2 separate regions of the Homo sapiens genome follow, and region 2 is linked to region 1. Evidence: promoter capture Hi-C in human tissues and cell types (Jung and others, 2019). All regions are on one chromosome and are shown on one strand. Each heading gives the region's core, a stretch centred on a gene start or on the middle of the fragment in contact. The rest is flanking DNA. Distances are from core to core; before and after follow the strand shown. Region 1 holds the start of COX4I2 (cytochrome c oxidase subunit 4I2). Region 2 overlaps TTLL9 (tubulin tyrosine ligase like 9).

Region 1 (7,449 bases), core at 2,317-4,816:
AGGTGATCCTTTTGGGGGTCTCTCACGTTTGGAATTACCTTGGTTGGGGAAGGGGAGGAGCAGCTCCCAGAGTGACCAGCAGAGGGCGCTGGGCCCAACATGGTCAGTTCTGGGAGCTGGACTCTTGGAACTCGGGAAGACTCCCAAGCTGCCTTCTCAAAGTTTTGTCTCTGGCAGCGTCTAGAATGGAGGTGATGTGCACTCTAGGGTCCCTCTAACACCTTCCCTTGAGCCCCTCGCCTTCTAGGCTCATCTGCCCCCAGGACTAAGCCCCCTCCCTTTATTTATTTATTTATTTATTTATTTATTGAGACAGAGTCTCGCTGTGTCGCCCAGGCTGGAGTGCAGTGGTGCGATCTCGGGTCACTGCAACCTCCGCCTCAGCCTCCCTAGTAGCTGGTACTACAGGTATGTGCCACGACACTTGGCTAATTTTTGTATTTTTAGTAGAGACAGGTTTTCTTCATGTTGGCCAGGCTAATCTCGAACTTCTGACCTCCAGTGATCTGCCCACCTTGGCCCCCCAAAGTGCTGAGATTACAGGCATGAGCCACCATGCCTGGCCAGCCTTTAGAAACTGTCTTTAGCAGGCCCCTGTGGACTCACTAGGGTATAGGAACCCTGATGGAAGGCATGGGGGCTGGGCATACCCCATGGACCTAGAGCCAGGAGACCTGGAAAGCTCTGGTCTCCAGGCCACCGAGGGGACCCCCAGCCCTCTCCCATTCATCCACCATCCGTATACTAACAGTCCCGGGACACATTTACTGAACTTGTGCTCTGCTTCATTTGAACACATCACTCCTCTTCTTAACTTTGGTTGCCTCCCACCTTCATTTTATTTTATTTATTTATTTATTTATTGAGACAGGGTCTCATTCTGTTGCCCAGGTTGGAGTGCAGTGGTGCAATCTCAGTTTACTGCAACCTCCACCTCCTGCCTCAGCCTCCTGAGCACCTGGGACTACAGGGGTGTGCCACCATGCCAGCTTAATCACCTTCTTTAAATAAAATCCAAGCTCCTCACTACCGCCTACAGGTCCTTCTCGGTGGTCCAGCCCACCTCTCCCTCCATCCAGCCTCCCCTTTAACCATGACACTCTGGCCAAGATGACCTCTCTTCTTTTGTTATTGTTTTTGTTGTTGCTTTGAGATGGAGTTTCGCTCTTGTTGCCCAGGCTGGAGTGCAACGGTGGGATCTTGGCTCACTGCAACCTCCGCCTCCCAGATTCAAGCGATTCTCCTGCCTCAGCCTCCCGAGTAGCTGGGATTACAGATGTGCACCACCACACCTGGCCAATTTTTTTATTTTTAGTAGAGACGGGGTTTCACCATGTTGGCCAGGCTGGTCTCAAACTCCCGACCTCAGGTGATCCATTCGCCTCGGCCTCCCAAAGTGCTGGGATTATAGGCATGAGCCACCGCACCTGGCTGTCTCTTCTGTTCAGTTGTTTTTTTTTTTTTTTTTGAGACGGAGTCTCGTTCTGTCGCCCAGGCTGGAGTGCAATGGTGCAATCTTGGCTCACTGCAACCTCCACCTCCCGGGTTCAAGCGATTCTCCTGCCTCAGCCTCCCAAGTAGCTGGGACTACAGGTGCATGCCACCACGCCTGGCTAATTTTTTGTATTTTTGGTAGAGATGGGGTTTCACCGTGTTAGCCAGGCTGGTCTCGATCTCCTGATCTTGTGATCCACCTGCCTTGACCTCCCAAAGTGCTGGGATTACAGCGTGAGCCACTGCACCTGGCCTGTCTCTTCTGTTTTTTGAACATGCTGTGTTTTCCTGCCTCTGGGTCTTTGCACAGGCCTTTTCCTCTGCCTAGAACAGAATTGTAAGCCCTGTGGGGGCAGGAACTATGTCTGGTTTTTTTTGGCTCTATAGCCCCCAACATTTATCCTGGTAAACAAGTATGCAATAAATGCCAGCTGAAACAGGTCTTTATAAGTTTTTTTTAAGTTTTTTTTTTTTTTTTTTTTTTTTTGAGGAGTCTCACTCTACCACCCAGGCTGGAGTGCAGTGGTGCGATCTTGGCTCACTGCAACGTCTGCCTCCCAGGTTCAAGCGATTATCTAGCCTCAGCCTCCCGAGTAGCTGGAATTATAGGTGTCCCCTGCCACACTCGGCTAATTTTTGTATTTTTAGTAGAGACGGGATTTCACCACGTTGGCCAGGGTGGTCTCAAACTCTTGACGTTAGGTGATCTGCTCGCCTCCGCCTCCCAGAGTGCTGGGATTGCAGGCATGAGCCACCACGCCCAGTTTTATAAGTAATTCTTGAATAAATGTGCCTGAGCCTTGTCTATTTTTTTTTTTTTTTTTTTTGAGATGGAGTCTCGCTCTGTCACTAGGCTCGAGTGCAGTGGCATGATCTTGGCTCACCGCAACCTCTGCCTTGCGGGTTCAAGCCATTCTCCTGCCTCAGCCTCCTGAGTAGCTGGGACCACAGGCGCCTGCCACCATGCCTGGCTAATTTTGTTTGCATTTTTAGTAGAGACGGGGTTTCGCTGTGTTAGCCAGGATGGTCTCCATCTCCTGACCTCATGATCTGCCCCCCTTGGCCTCCCAAAGTGCTGGGAATTTTTTTTTTCTTTTTCTTTTTCTTTTTTTCTGAGACAGAGTCTTGTTCTGTTGCCCAGGCTGGAGTGCAGTGGCCCGATCTCGGCTCACTGCAACAGCCGCTTCCCAGGTTCAAGTGATTCTCCTGCCTCAGCCCTCTGTGAAGCTGGGACTATAGGTGCGCGCCACCACGCCCTGCTAACTTTTTTTTTTTTTTTTTTTTTTTTTGAGATGGAGTCTAGCTCTGCTGCCCAGGCTAGAGTGCAGTAGCCGGATCTCGACTCACCGCAACCTCCGCCTCCCGGGTTCAAGCGATTCTCCTGCCTCAGCCTCCTGAGTAGCTGGGATTACAGGTGCGTGCCACCACGCCCAGCTAATTTTTGTATTCTTAGTAAAGATGGGGTTTCACCATGTTGGCTAAGCTGTCTCAAACTCCTGACCTCGTGATTTGCCTGCCTTGGCCTCCCAAAGCGCTGAGATTACAGGCATGAGCCACCGCGCCCGCCCAATTTTTCTATTTTTAATAGAGAAGGTGTTTCGCCATGCTGGGCAGGCTGGTCTCAAACTCCTGACCTCAGGTGATCCTCCCGCCTCGGCCTCCCAAAGTGCTAGGATTACAGGCGTGAGCCACTGCTGGCCTAAAAGATGCTTCTGGAGTAGGAGGCATTGGGCCTGGCTGGAAGGTTTGCGTCTGCAAAGGCCTGAAGAGAACATCCCAGGTGGGAGAAACAGCAAGGAGGGGAGGTGTGGAGGAGGCAGGGAGACCCTGTTCTTGGGACTACTGTCTGCAGAGGGTCTCCAGAGGCAGGACCCCGGTAGGGACACTGATGCAGGAGGCGCTCTGCAGTGCCTCCCCCCAATCTGTGGGCCGGGGTGCCCCCAGGGACGCAGGCTGTGCGCTCCCACGCCCTGCCGAAGCAGGACGTTCCCACGCTGGGGCGGCCCCGAGAAAGGCTGTGGGGCGGGCCGGGGGCGGGCGCCCGCACTCAGGTCCCTCCGCAGCGGGTTCTCAGTTGCTCGCTGGGCAGACCCAGGTCGCGCTCCCACTGCCGAGCCCGCGAGGTGAGTGAGTTGGGGGAGGACCCCGCCACCCAAGCCCGCGCGGGTCAGGGGCGCGGCTCGGTCTCCTGCCTTCGCCGCTGGGTCACGCCCCAGTGGTCCCTGTCTTAGAGGGTTGGGGGGCTTCTTGTAGGTTAGAGTTGAAGACTCCTGGGGAGTCTGCATATGTGTGCCATCTCTTTCCCCAAATATAGATTACATCCTCCCTCTCTTGATATGTGGAGCTCTCCCACCCACTAATCATAATCACTGGCCGGAGCCCCTCTTTTCCAGAAGTGTGGGCCGCCCCCTCCCACTTATCACCTGTAGTGTGCCCCCTCCCTCACTCTATTTGTTGGGTGCCCCTCTCTCTCCCTAGATGTGGGACTCCCCTTCTTTTCCCCAGATGTGTGTCTCCCTCCCTCTGACCCAGTTAAGTCCCCATCCTCTAAAGCCCCTCCCCACCACCATGGATGCCAAACCCTGAGTCTTCCCTGGGGGTGGGAGACTGGGCTCAGCCAGACTGGCTAAGCCCAGTCCCCACCCCAACCAGATCCAGCAGAGCAGGCCTGTGTGCACGTAGGCAGCCAATTAGGGGGGAAGGGGTGGGGGCCAGACCGTCTGTCTGTTCTGCCGGTGCAGGGGCCTCTGGCCCCTGCAGGGAAGAGAGACTCAAGAACTGCTCCCTCTCCACCTGGACCCCACCCAGCTTCCTCTGGGGAGCAAACAAGTGAGCGGGGTTCTCCAATCTGGCCAGACTGAGCTGGGGCTGGCACCAGAACCCAAGCCCTCAGCCTCAAACTCTTCAGACCCTGGCCCAAGACTTAGGCCTCCTCCCACTTCTCAGATGGTGAATTGAGGTCCCAAAAAGGGGCTTCAAAGGTCTAGGACCCCCATTGGCCCCCCGCTGGGGATATCAGACAAAATTAGAAGGGTCAAGGGCATGAGGGTGACCTTGAAACACTGGGACACCCCTACCACTACCATACCAGTGGAAAAGGATTTTTCCATCTGGCCCTGCGGTTTGGGGGCAGAGGGTGATGTGGGGGCAGAACTCATCTATACCTTCACGCCCCCAGATGCTCCCCAGAGCTGCCTGGAGCTTGGTGCTGAGGAAAGGTGGAGGTGGAAGACGAGGGATGCACAGCTCAGAAGGCACCAGTGAGACCTGGACTCCTTCCTCCCTGCCTAACTCCAGAGATAGGGGCAGGGGTCCCCTCTGCAGGCTGCCCCCTTTGCCCTTCCATGCCACCCTGGGCCTGTTCCTACCACACTTCCCATGTTCCCATGATCCCACTCCTTGGTCCAAGGTCAAGTTTCTCCAGGAAATGGAGTGCGCGGGGTGAGCAGACAGTGGTCATCTCCATTCCAAGCTTCCTTAGGAGCCAGCCCCCAAGCCTCAGGCCCCTAGACCTTTTGTTCTGAGGTGGAGGATGCTGACAGAACCTTGGACCCTGATTCCTCCTTTCCAGACCCTAGTTTCAATGCTAGTAAGAAGAAAGAGACCTAAAGTAGGAGAGACTTCAGCCAGATAGCAGAAGGGCCTTGCTGACCCATGGAGAATAACAAAGATAACATTTATTGAGCCCTTACTAGTACCCCAAGCTATTATAAACCTCCTTTTTTTTTTTTTTTGAGATAGAGTCTTGCTCTGTCGCTCAGGCTAGAGTGTTCAGTGGCGCAATGTCGGCTCACTGCAACCTCCGCCTCCTGGGTTCAAACAATTCTCCTGACTCAGCCTCCCGAGTAGCTGGGATTATAGGTGCCCACCACTGCGCCCGGCTAATTTTTGTATTTTTAGTAGAGGAGAGGTTTTACTGTCTTGGCCAGGCTGGTCTCGAACTCCTGACCTCGTGATCCACCCGCCTCAGCCTCCCAAAATGCTAGGATTACAGGCATGAGCCACCAAGCCCGGCCACCTTCTTTATTAATATAGTTAGAGATAGGGTGTCCCAAGGGCAGCCTGGACTCAGCTCCCTCCATTGTGTCTGCAGCCCGTGGTGGGGGGAAGATGTCCCCCTACACCAACTGCTATGCCCAGCGCTACTACCCCATGCCAGAAGAGCCCTTCTGCACAGAACTCAACGCTGAGGAGCAGGCCCTGAAGGAGAAGGAGAAGGGAAGCTGGACCCAGCTGACCCACGCCGAAAAGGTGGCCTGTAAGTGTCAGGGTGGGGCTGGCTGGAGAGAGTGGGTTGGGGGCTGACTTTGGAAAGAATGGCCTGTCAGGGATCAGAGGGCAGAGAGAGGCCCCCAAGACAGCCAGAAACCTCCAAACACCTGAGGGGTGAAGTTCATGCCTTTGTTCGTTTCTTTATTCACTCACCTGTTTGTGCATAGCCTGATGCTAGGCAATGCTGGGGACATGAGGTGAATCACCTGGATAGTTCCTGCCCCCATGGTGCCCCCGGTCCCGTGGGGAAAACCAATACAGACTCCAATAATTGTAATACAGAACATGTGGCTAGGGTGAGGTGTGTTCAAGGACTGTGAGATGAAATCTTGGTGGACCTCCCAGAGGAGGGCACATTCCAGCTGGCCTTTAAGGGTGAAGAGGAGGGCACTGCCAGGGAGTGGGAACTGCATGGGGAAGGGTGTCAGAGCAGGAGACTGTGGAGGGCCCTGGAATTGAGTGATGTGGGGGAGATGGGACAGAGAGAGGCAGGTGAGGCGGTTGGGGAGGAGCCCTCTGACCCTGGGAGGCTGGAGGGATGTGTGGTCCCTTGTCATGTCCACCAGAGCATCCCTGAGCTGACCCTTTGAAATTTGGAGCACCTTATTTTCATTCCATGAATGGGAACACTCAGCCTGACCTCCAAGATTTCAAGGGATTCCTAGTGGGGAAAGGTTCATGCTTCTCACATTCATTCATTCAGTCAACATCTTATTTGGCACCTACTACAATACCATGCACTGGGAATGCAGCTGTGAGCCAGCCAGGCTCCGTTCCTGCCTGTGAGCTTGCATTTCCAGCCCTCTCTCAGCACCTTTACCCCTTCTCTCTCTCTCTCTTTCTACACACACACACACACACACACACACACACACACACACACATCTTGGTTTTTTCTTCATCCATTTCAGAAATTGACACTCTTGGGGGGAGAGGGGAGGAATAGCATTAGGAGATATACCTAATTCTAAATGATGAGTTAATGGGTGTAGCACACCAACATGGCACATGTATACATATGTAACAAACCACATGTACCCTAAAACTTAAAGTATAATAATAATAAAATTTAAAAAAAAAAGAGAAATTGACACTCTTTATCTGAGCATGGTGGCACATGCCTGTCGTCCCAGCTATTTGGGAGGCTGAGGCAGGAGGATCACTTGAGCCCAGGGGAGCTGAGGCTAGAGTGAGCTGTGATTGTGCTACGGCATTGCACTCCAGCCTGGGTAACAAAGTGAGACCCTGTCTGAAAAAAAAAAAAAAAAAGAGAGAGAGAGAAAGAAATGATGGACATTCCCCAAGCAAGATGATAATGAGCACCATCCCTAATATGTCCTGCACGCTTACATGTAGCAGGCACCGCTGTGGCGTTAGGTTGCTCTCGTTAGCTCACATTTGAGAGACTGAGGCTCAGTGGCGTGCAGTCACTTACAGTGGTTGCACAGCTAGAGAGTGGTGGAGGCAAGATTTGAAACCACATAGACAGGCACCAGGGGTTTCACCCTTAGCTGCTACACCACATTAGCTACAATGAAGGTTTGGTGGGATGCTTGGGGAGTTTCAGTGTAACCTCACAGCTCAAACAACTTTTTTTTTTTCCTTTTCTTTGAGACAGGGTCTCTGTCACCCAGGCTGGAGTGCAGTGGCCCCATCTCGGCTCACTGAAATCTCTGCCTCCTG
Region 2 (7,449 bases), core at 3,080-5,579, 310 kb after region 1:
AATTTGTCAGATTTGAATTTTTAGAAAAAAGAAATCTGTGCCAACTGGTGAGGTAAAACATACTGACTCGTTGTTTTATGTGCATTCCATTGATTACTGGTGAGGTTTCCGTTTTTTAAATTTGCATTTCTTCTTTTGTAAGCTGTCCATACTCTTTATCCATTTTTCTATGGGTTGTTTAGTTTTCTAAATGTATAAGGCTTCAGATGACTATATAACACTGTCCAAGCTTAATTTAATATGCATACAATCACCTGGAAATCTTGTTAAACTATAGATTGTGACTCCATAGGTCTAGGGTGGGGCCTAAGATTGTATTTCTAACAAGCTCCTGGGTGATGCTCTATTGATTAACCATTGCTGTGTAACAAGCCCTCCCAAAACCTAGCAGCTTAAAGCAACTATTTTATTTGCTCATCCTTCCTCAGGTCTCTCCTGGGGTCACTTATAGGGCTGCAGGCACCTGGCAGATTTACTGGAGACTTGATGGTGTACGACAGCCTCATTCATAGGTGTGGGGGTTGATACTGGCTGTCAGTTGGGCCTCTCTTTCCATGTGGCCACTCGTCTTCCAACAGTCTGGCCCTGGCTTCTTCACGTGGTAGACTCGGGGTTCTAAGAGGGTGAGAAAACACACTGCAAAGCCTTTTGCGGCCCGGACTCAGAAGTCCCATAAAGTCATTCTGCTACAATCAAAGCATTTGCTGGTGTAGCCCAGTCACTGGGTAAGAAAATAGACCCCACCTCGCCGGGCGCGGTGGCTCACGCCTGTAATCCCAACACTTTGGGAGGCCGAGGCGGGCGGATCATGAGGTCAGGAGAGCGAAACCATCCTGGCTAACACGGTGAAACACTGTCTCTACTAAAAAATACAAAAAAATTAGCCAGGCGTGCTGGCGGGCGCCTGTAGTCAGCTACTCGGGAGGCTGAGGCAGGAGAATGGCGTGAACCCGGGAGGCGGAGCTTGCAGTGAGCCGAGATTGCGCCACTGCACTCCAGCCTGGGCGACAGAGCGAGACTGTCTCACACAGAAAAAGAAAAAAAAAAAAAAAAAAGAAAATAGACCCCACCTTTTGATGAGAGGAGCAGCAAAGTCACCTTGCACAGAGGTGTGCATATAGGAACATTGTTGCAGCCTTCTTTGCCAACAGTGCACCAAAGATATCAATGCGCTACTTCCTGGACCCCCATTTGAGTAGCAAAGATGGAAAGCGGCGGTTCTCTATCTTGGCTGCCCATTGGAATCACCTGGGAGCTTTAAAGACTACTGACGCCTGCCAGATCAAGATATGGTTGGTGTGGGCATCAGTAGCTTTTAAAGCTCCCAGGTGATTCCAATATGCAGCCCAAGTTGAGAGCTACTGTTTTTTTTTTATTATTTTTTTTTGAGACGGAGTCTCGCTCTGTTGCCCAGGCTGGAGTGCAGTGGTGCAATCATAGCTCACTGTAACTAACCTCAAACTCCCAGGCTCAAGCAGTCCTCCTACCTCAGCCTCCTGAGTAGCTAGGCCTACAGGCACACACCACACCTGGCTAATTTTATTTTTGTGTGTGTGATTTTTTTCCTGTAGAGACAAAATCTCACTATATTGACCAGGCTGGGAGAGCCAGTGCTTTAGAAGTCTCTAGAATTATTCCTGTTTCAAGTGTTTGGGTTTATGGTGGTAAACACAAGGGTAGCTGGTTAGGGTAGGAAGAGTACTGATGAACTGAGTTAGGGAAGCGTTCAGGGACATCCAGGTGAAAGGGTCAGCAGATAACTCAGAGATGAGTGTAGAACTCCAAGAAGTTTGCACTGGACAAGAAGACTCGAGAGTTAGGAATGAGCCAAATAGAGTTTAAGTTAGGGCTGCATGGAACTCACTCTGGAAAACCCTGAGGATGTGCATCGTAGGCTCTCAGCTCAGTGAATGGCTGAGTGAGTGTCTGGGAAGCAGGGACAGGGTTTGGGGGGATGTGGAAGATGGCAGACACCCACAGGTCAGAACTAGTGGCCACAGAGATTCAGTCATTCAAGCAGCATTTTTGAGTGCCAGCAATGTGCCTGGCATGAGGTTAAATGACCATAGTTACCTCAAGGATCAGCTCTGAGAGCAAACAGCCAACATGTAGCACCATGAACGTCCTGGGAGAGACGTCTCAGCAGCTCACGGCAGCCTCAGCACGAACTGCCTGGGATTGGGGGCCACATGTACGGAAAACTCATCTCTTAGCCAGTTGTGCCTGGCACATGGGTTGGGTAAGGGAAGAAAGCTAACAGTACTGGGCAGCTATGAGGTGCCAGGCACTGTGCTAGCTTTAAATGCATTTTCACTGAGCAAAGCCAGGAGAAGCAGCAGCGTGGGGTAGTGGTTAAGAGTGTGGCTCTGGCACCAGGTAGTCTGGGTTCAAATGATTTAACCTCTCTGAGCCTGTTTTCCCTTCTACACATCATTCCTGCGAGGGCCAAACAAATCCATCCACATTCAGCATCTGGAGCAGTTCCTGGCTTGAGGTAAGCCCCCAGTCCTCATGTTCACTCCATAAGGTGGGCAGTAGTATCCTGGTTTACAGATGAGAAGACCGATGCTGAAAAGGGTAACTGACCTGCTTGAGGGCCATGGCAGTTTAGGAATGGAGCCAGGATATAAACCACAGGCTGTGTGTGGTTGTCTGACTCCCGCTGTCCCCTCTTCCCAGCAGGGAGTTGGGGCACAGGCCCCTCCACTCCTCCCAAGCATAGGTCATCCCAGCCAACACCCCACTTCCTTTCCAGGCTGCGTCAACGATCGGAAGAAACAACTGAGGCAGCTCTTCTGCTCCCTTCAAGTTCAGAAGAAAGCTTCCAGTTGATCCCCAGCTGCCAGGAGGAAATCAGCCTTAGCAGGTGCCACCCAGGCCTCCCCCCCACTCCCAGATCCCAGCACAGCACCTCACAGCATTCGCCTCCCCACCTCCAGCCTGGCACCAGCTTTGCTGGCTTAGCAGCTGCAGCTTACTACCTGAATTGGGCCCCTTGGATACCTCCAGCCCATCCCCAGGCATCTTTGCACCAGGAGACAGCCAATCACTGGGACTGGGGGAGGTTTAACCTTGACAAACTGACTTGGCAGTTAGGCCCAAAGAGAACAAATACAGCAAGTTCTGCTACCCCCAGGAGATCATATCTAATAAATGAGCACAGGCCCTACTTGGAGTCACTGGGCACCAGGCCTGGTTCCGGGGATACTGTTGGCTGCAGCCAAGTCCTCCTGGCTTTGACACTTGGATACCTCCCAAGTCAGTGCTGAAAAGGTCCTTCAGGAGCAAGAGTTTGGAGGCTAAGGAACTCGTCTTTAAGCTGTGCTTACACAGCAAGCAGTTATTAGATTGTGTGTTTATTGGGGGCCTGGGGAAGTACTGAGCCCTAAACACATCCTCTTCTCCTTGCATGTCAGGGGAGCCCATGGGGCTCCCTGACCATCATCTGAAAACCAGTGGGACAGGGCATCCCCATTTCTCAGATGGACAAGACAGACCAGGGAGGCAGAGCTTAGTGAGGGTCTCTGCAAAGGTGCATTTATCTAAGTCAGATGGGTGACTTAAGTGCTTCTCTAGGCCTTGTGTTTGAGATTGGGAGCTGAGCCAGAAACCGGAAAACCCTGGGCTCATGGGCAGGACAGCTTCGGGAGTTGAGTGTGAGTAAAAATCTGCCTTTTCACATCTTACATTGCTAAGCTTCCTCTTGGTTTAAGAGGGGTTGCAACAAGACTCGGGGCTGTTGGGGTAACTGTTCCAGGGGGGACTTACTCCCTCTACCACTCCGCCTGCTTCAGAGTAGTTTCTCTGGCTGCAAATGGTTGAATCTGCCTGCCTAGGTCAAGCCCGAAGGGAAGACTTTTGGAAGGAAAATACTGGCAAATCCAAGAAGTGAACCAGCCGACTTTAGGAAAGCCAGAAGCCAGGCTACTCTAGACCTTCTGCCTTCAGAGCATGAGGACTTCTCCCACTCATCCCTGTACCTGAGGCACACCAACCCAGACAGGTCCAGGCATGGACTCCAGGTTCCCTATTTCCAGAAGGAATGCGATTAGCTTTTTTTGGCCCAGCACCCACCCTGCCAGGGAGGAAGGGGCAATTTTCCAGTGATGAAATTGTGAATCAGGCAGTCACACTGGACAACATCTAGCAAGGTGAATTCTGCAACTCCCTACTTTATTTACATTTTAAAATAAGCAATATATTCATACGGTTTAAAATCCAAAGTTTACAAAAGGGTATAGGGTGACATCTCCTTCCCTCCCACCTGTGCGCCCCAACCCTGCAGGTGCTGTTCTGAGGGAATCACACTGTGCTTGCACAAAAATTATTAGCTTATAAGACACCAGCCTTCCCCTTGCTTTCCTCACTTGATGTATCTTGGAGCTTGTTCCTTATTCTTGATTATAGTTGTATGGTATTGCACTATCTGGAGCTAACACCTGTGACCCACACTCATGTTTTAAAAGTTTCTGCATTAGTCAAAAATATTTAAAAGGAGATTCAACTTCACAACCCATATGTCTAGCTTCTCTTGAAAACACGTAAGAACTGGCCATGACAGCCTGTGTTTCTATGTAACTATGAGCCAGAGCCAAGGAGCGGGGGGACCAGGAGAGGTGTGCCCCTGCCATGCTGCCATTTGTTATCACCCGCCTGTCAAATCACAGGTTTATTTCAAGGCAAGAACCATGTTCATAGGTTGTATTCTAAATGGAGTGGCGTGCCCTTACTGAAGGACTAGATGAGGCAAATAAAGACTAGTTGCTGCTATTCATTCATTCAGCTAACATTTATTGAGCCCTTAATGAACACATAAGAGTTTTGACTTCACGGCAGTTCATACTGGGACCTCAGACCACTGAAGGCAGACAGTAACGAGCAGTGCTGGCCGGGCCCCACTTTCAGAGGGGGCGGAAGGGCATCTTGACACGTGTCATATGGTAAGAGGCGCATCCACTCACCCAGGCCTGGTGCAGGACTCTGCAAGGCCCTCCTGAGTAAAGAGTGGCCACGAAGGGCTGCTAGGCAGCACCTACTCTTGGAATCAAGCAGGGAAAAAGTGCAAAATTGGAGCTGGCGGGAGGTGTGTGTGCCTGCCCCACAGATGGCTGTGGTGAGCCACAAAGCACCAAGATTCTGTTCTTCATTCAGCAACCACCCATGAGCCTCCTGCTTTATTCCAATCGCATGGCACCAGCCTGAAAACCTCTCTCCCTTCTGAGAGGAATGCTGGAATGACACTCCACTCTGCCCCTCCCTCCCTCCTTCCTTGCTCAGGGTCCATGTGAACAGCAGGCCATTGTTGGGAAGTGCCTGTTGCAGTCATTCTTACACCCCCACAGCCACTGCCCCACACACCCACTGGTGGCTACCAAGGCCCGTCAATAGATCTTGTGTCCACCGAGCCCTGGTGTCCAGGTCCAGCAGCCAGACAGGCTGAAGGTTCCCTCCTGCCATCACAGAGTAGCCAAGCACTACAAAGAGGTTTTCATGGCCAGATTCCTGACGGCTGGCCCCTTACAGGGCAGATCCTGTCCTTACAGGTGTCAAGGTTGGAGGGTCCTGGGTCCTCCATGACCCTGGGGGGTTGCTGGTCCCCCATCTTGGTTCTTGAGTCTCATCCTTTCAAGATGACCTTGAGAGCTTTAAGCTCATCCTGGTTGAGGGGGTTCAAGTTAAAACCCTTCAGCTCCGGTTTGCCTAGGAGAGAAGATGATCCATCAGCACGTCGGGCCTCCTGCTGGCTCTGGAGCCAGGCCCAGGAAAGGGGCTGACGCTGCACTAATGCTGCCAAACTCAGCCTGGAGGTCTGGCAGGGATGGGCCTCCAATTCTGCAATGCACCAGATGAGGCATCACCACTGCTCCTGTGTCACCAAGAGCCTGCAAACGCGTAACTCTGCTGCCCAAAGAACCTCAGGTTTTTCCAAGACCTGTGACCAATCTAGAGTGCTTGCATTTATCAAGAATTTCAGCTCTGACCTCACTCACTCACTGAAGCCTTCTGAGTTTCCTCAGTCAGAGCTATCTGATCCCCATGCCATGCCCCGATGTATAACGTGAGATCACCCCAAGCGGTTCCTGGGACCTGGAAAAGAAACTATGACAGGACTAGGACTGTAGAAGTCCCCCTGTCCATTCTGTCCCTGGGCAGCTACAACCAACCACTGTGCACACCTCCAGGGCCACTCACAGGCTGCCCCGGACACTGCCCATCTCTGAGGGTCGGACTTCCCATCCCTGCCCTTCAAAGTCCATGCTGATGATTCCCTCCCCTTCTTATCTCCAGTCCCTGCTAAGCCAATACCTTGGGCCTCAAAAAGGCGGTTGACCTTCACTTTAAGTTGCTTCCGCAGTTTTTCTATTTCTTTATCCAGATGATCTTGATCTGAAAAAATGAGGGGGGCAAGCAGAGGATAAGATTGTACCAGACAGACTTGATCCCAGTAGTGGAGAGGCCAGCCTCTCCCCAGCAAGGGCGTGTAGCTTTCAGGAAGGAAAAGGGGACATCAGAGGCCAACTGAGGAAGGATTAAAGTCTAGAAGGGACATGACCTGCTCAGGACCACTCAGAGAGCCCAGGACACAGCAGTCCCAACTCCCATTACACTGGCCTTTTCTGCATTATGCAAAGTACCTTGGGGTGGTCAGTGGATGGAGAAGGCAACATCAGGACTTTAGGCTGCCCTCCCACAATGAAATTATGGAAAATTCAAATGCACAAACAAAATAAGCATCTCTAGATTCAGCCCACCCTAGATGGCTGGAAAATGGATGCCTAAGAAATTTTACAAACCCAAGTCCATCAAGGTGAGGGGGTTTTAGAAAAACATGATTGTGTAAACATGTGACGTAAACAATCAACACGCAAGCAATGCTCAAGCTTAACTTAATTAGCCACTGTGAACAGAAAAGGGTCTTCTAGTGTCATGGACTGCCCCTGAGAAGAGTTGGTGTGATGACAGAGGTGGCTATCAAAGCTTGATTGACCAATTGACTGAAGTCACCCAGCCAATTCCACCTGCTCATGAGTGACATTCTGGCTAGCCTGTCTTCCCCACAGACTCACTCTTTCAGATGGGGGAGAAACCCTGAATGGCCAAGCCTTACAGCCTGGTTCTATTTCTCATTGTGAATGAGTAACCCCAATGTCCATGAGCTTGTTTAGCCTATGTTGATCCCCAAGAAATCTGATAATGTCTCAGAACCCCTCTAGGTACAGTGACAAGACGACATTTGGGGGCCAAAAGGGCCAACAAGATCCTGAACCCAGGCAAGGGACCCTCTGAAAGCTTAGCCTCCAGCCCACCACCAAGTGCAGTTTAATTTTATAACCATAATATTAGTGTATTTTTTCAACACAACAGCTGGAAACTTCTCCAGGCTGGATATAGCTTCCTGTTAGTAGTTTTATGTCACTGGCCAGGAGCAGTGGCTCACGCCTGTAATCC

The links. Contacts are between HindIII fragments. The study calls those that stand out against the background at their distance.
Region 2: a fragment that was not itself captured here is called in contact with the fragment with the promoter of COX4I2 in region 1 in 1 of the 25 tissues and cell types used here (mesenchymal stem cells).

The regions. Positions count from the first base shown.
Region 1 is chr20:31,634,346-31,641,794 of GRCh38, forward strand. It overlaps COX4I2 (cytochrome c oxidase subunit 4I2), which reads left to right and starts at 3,567. Exons shown (of 5, transcript NM_032609.3): 1 at 3,567-3,617; 2 at 4,673-4,754; 3 at 5,588-5,752. The coding sequence starts at 4,673. RefSeq lists an enhancer at 1-359 and a silencer at 3,488-3,627. The HindIII fragment of the contact is 12,374 bases long and covers 1-7,449 here.
Region 2 is chr20:31,940,190-31,947,638 of GRCh38, forward strand. It overlaps TTLL9 (tubulin tyrosine ligase like 9), which reads left to right. Exons shown (of 15, transcript NM_001008409.5): 15 at 2,756-4,811. The coding sequence ends at 2,832. It overlaps PDRG1 (p53 and DNA damage regulated 1), which reads right to left. Exons shown (of 5, transcript NM_030815.3): 4 at 6,307-6,387; 5 at 4,148-5,700. The coding sequence ends at 5,618. Among named protein-coding and RNA genes, the nearest start is that of PDRG1, 8.1 kb to the right of the region's middle. The HindIII fragment of the contact is 5,609 bases long and covers 1,526-7,134 here.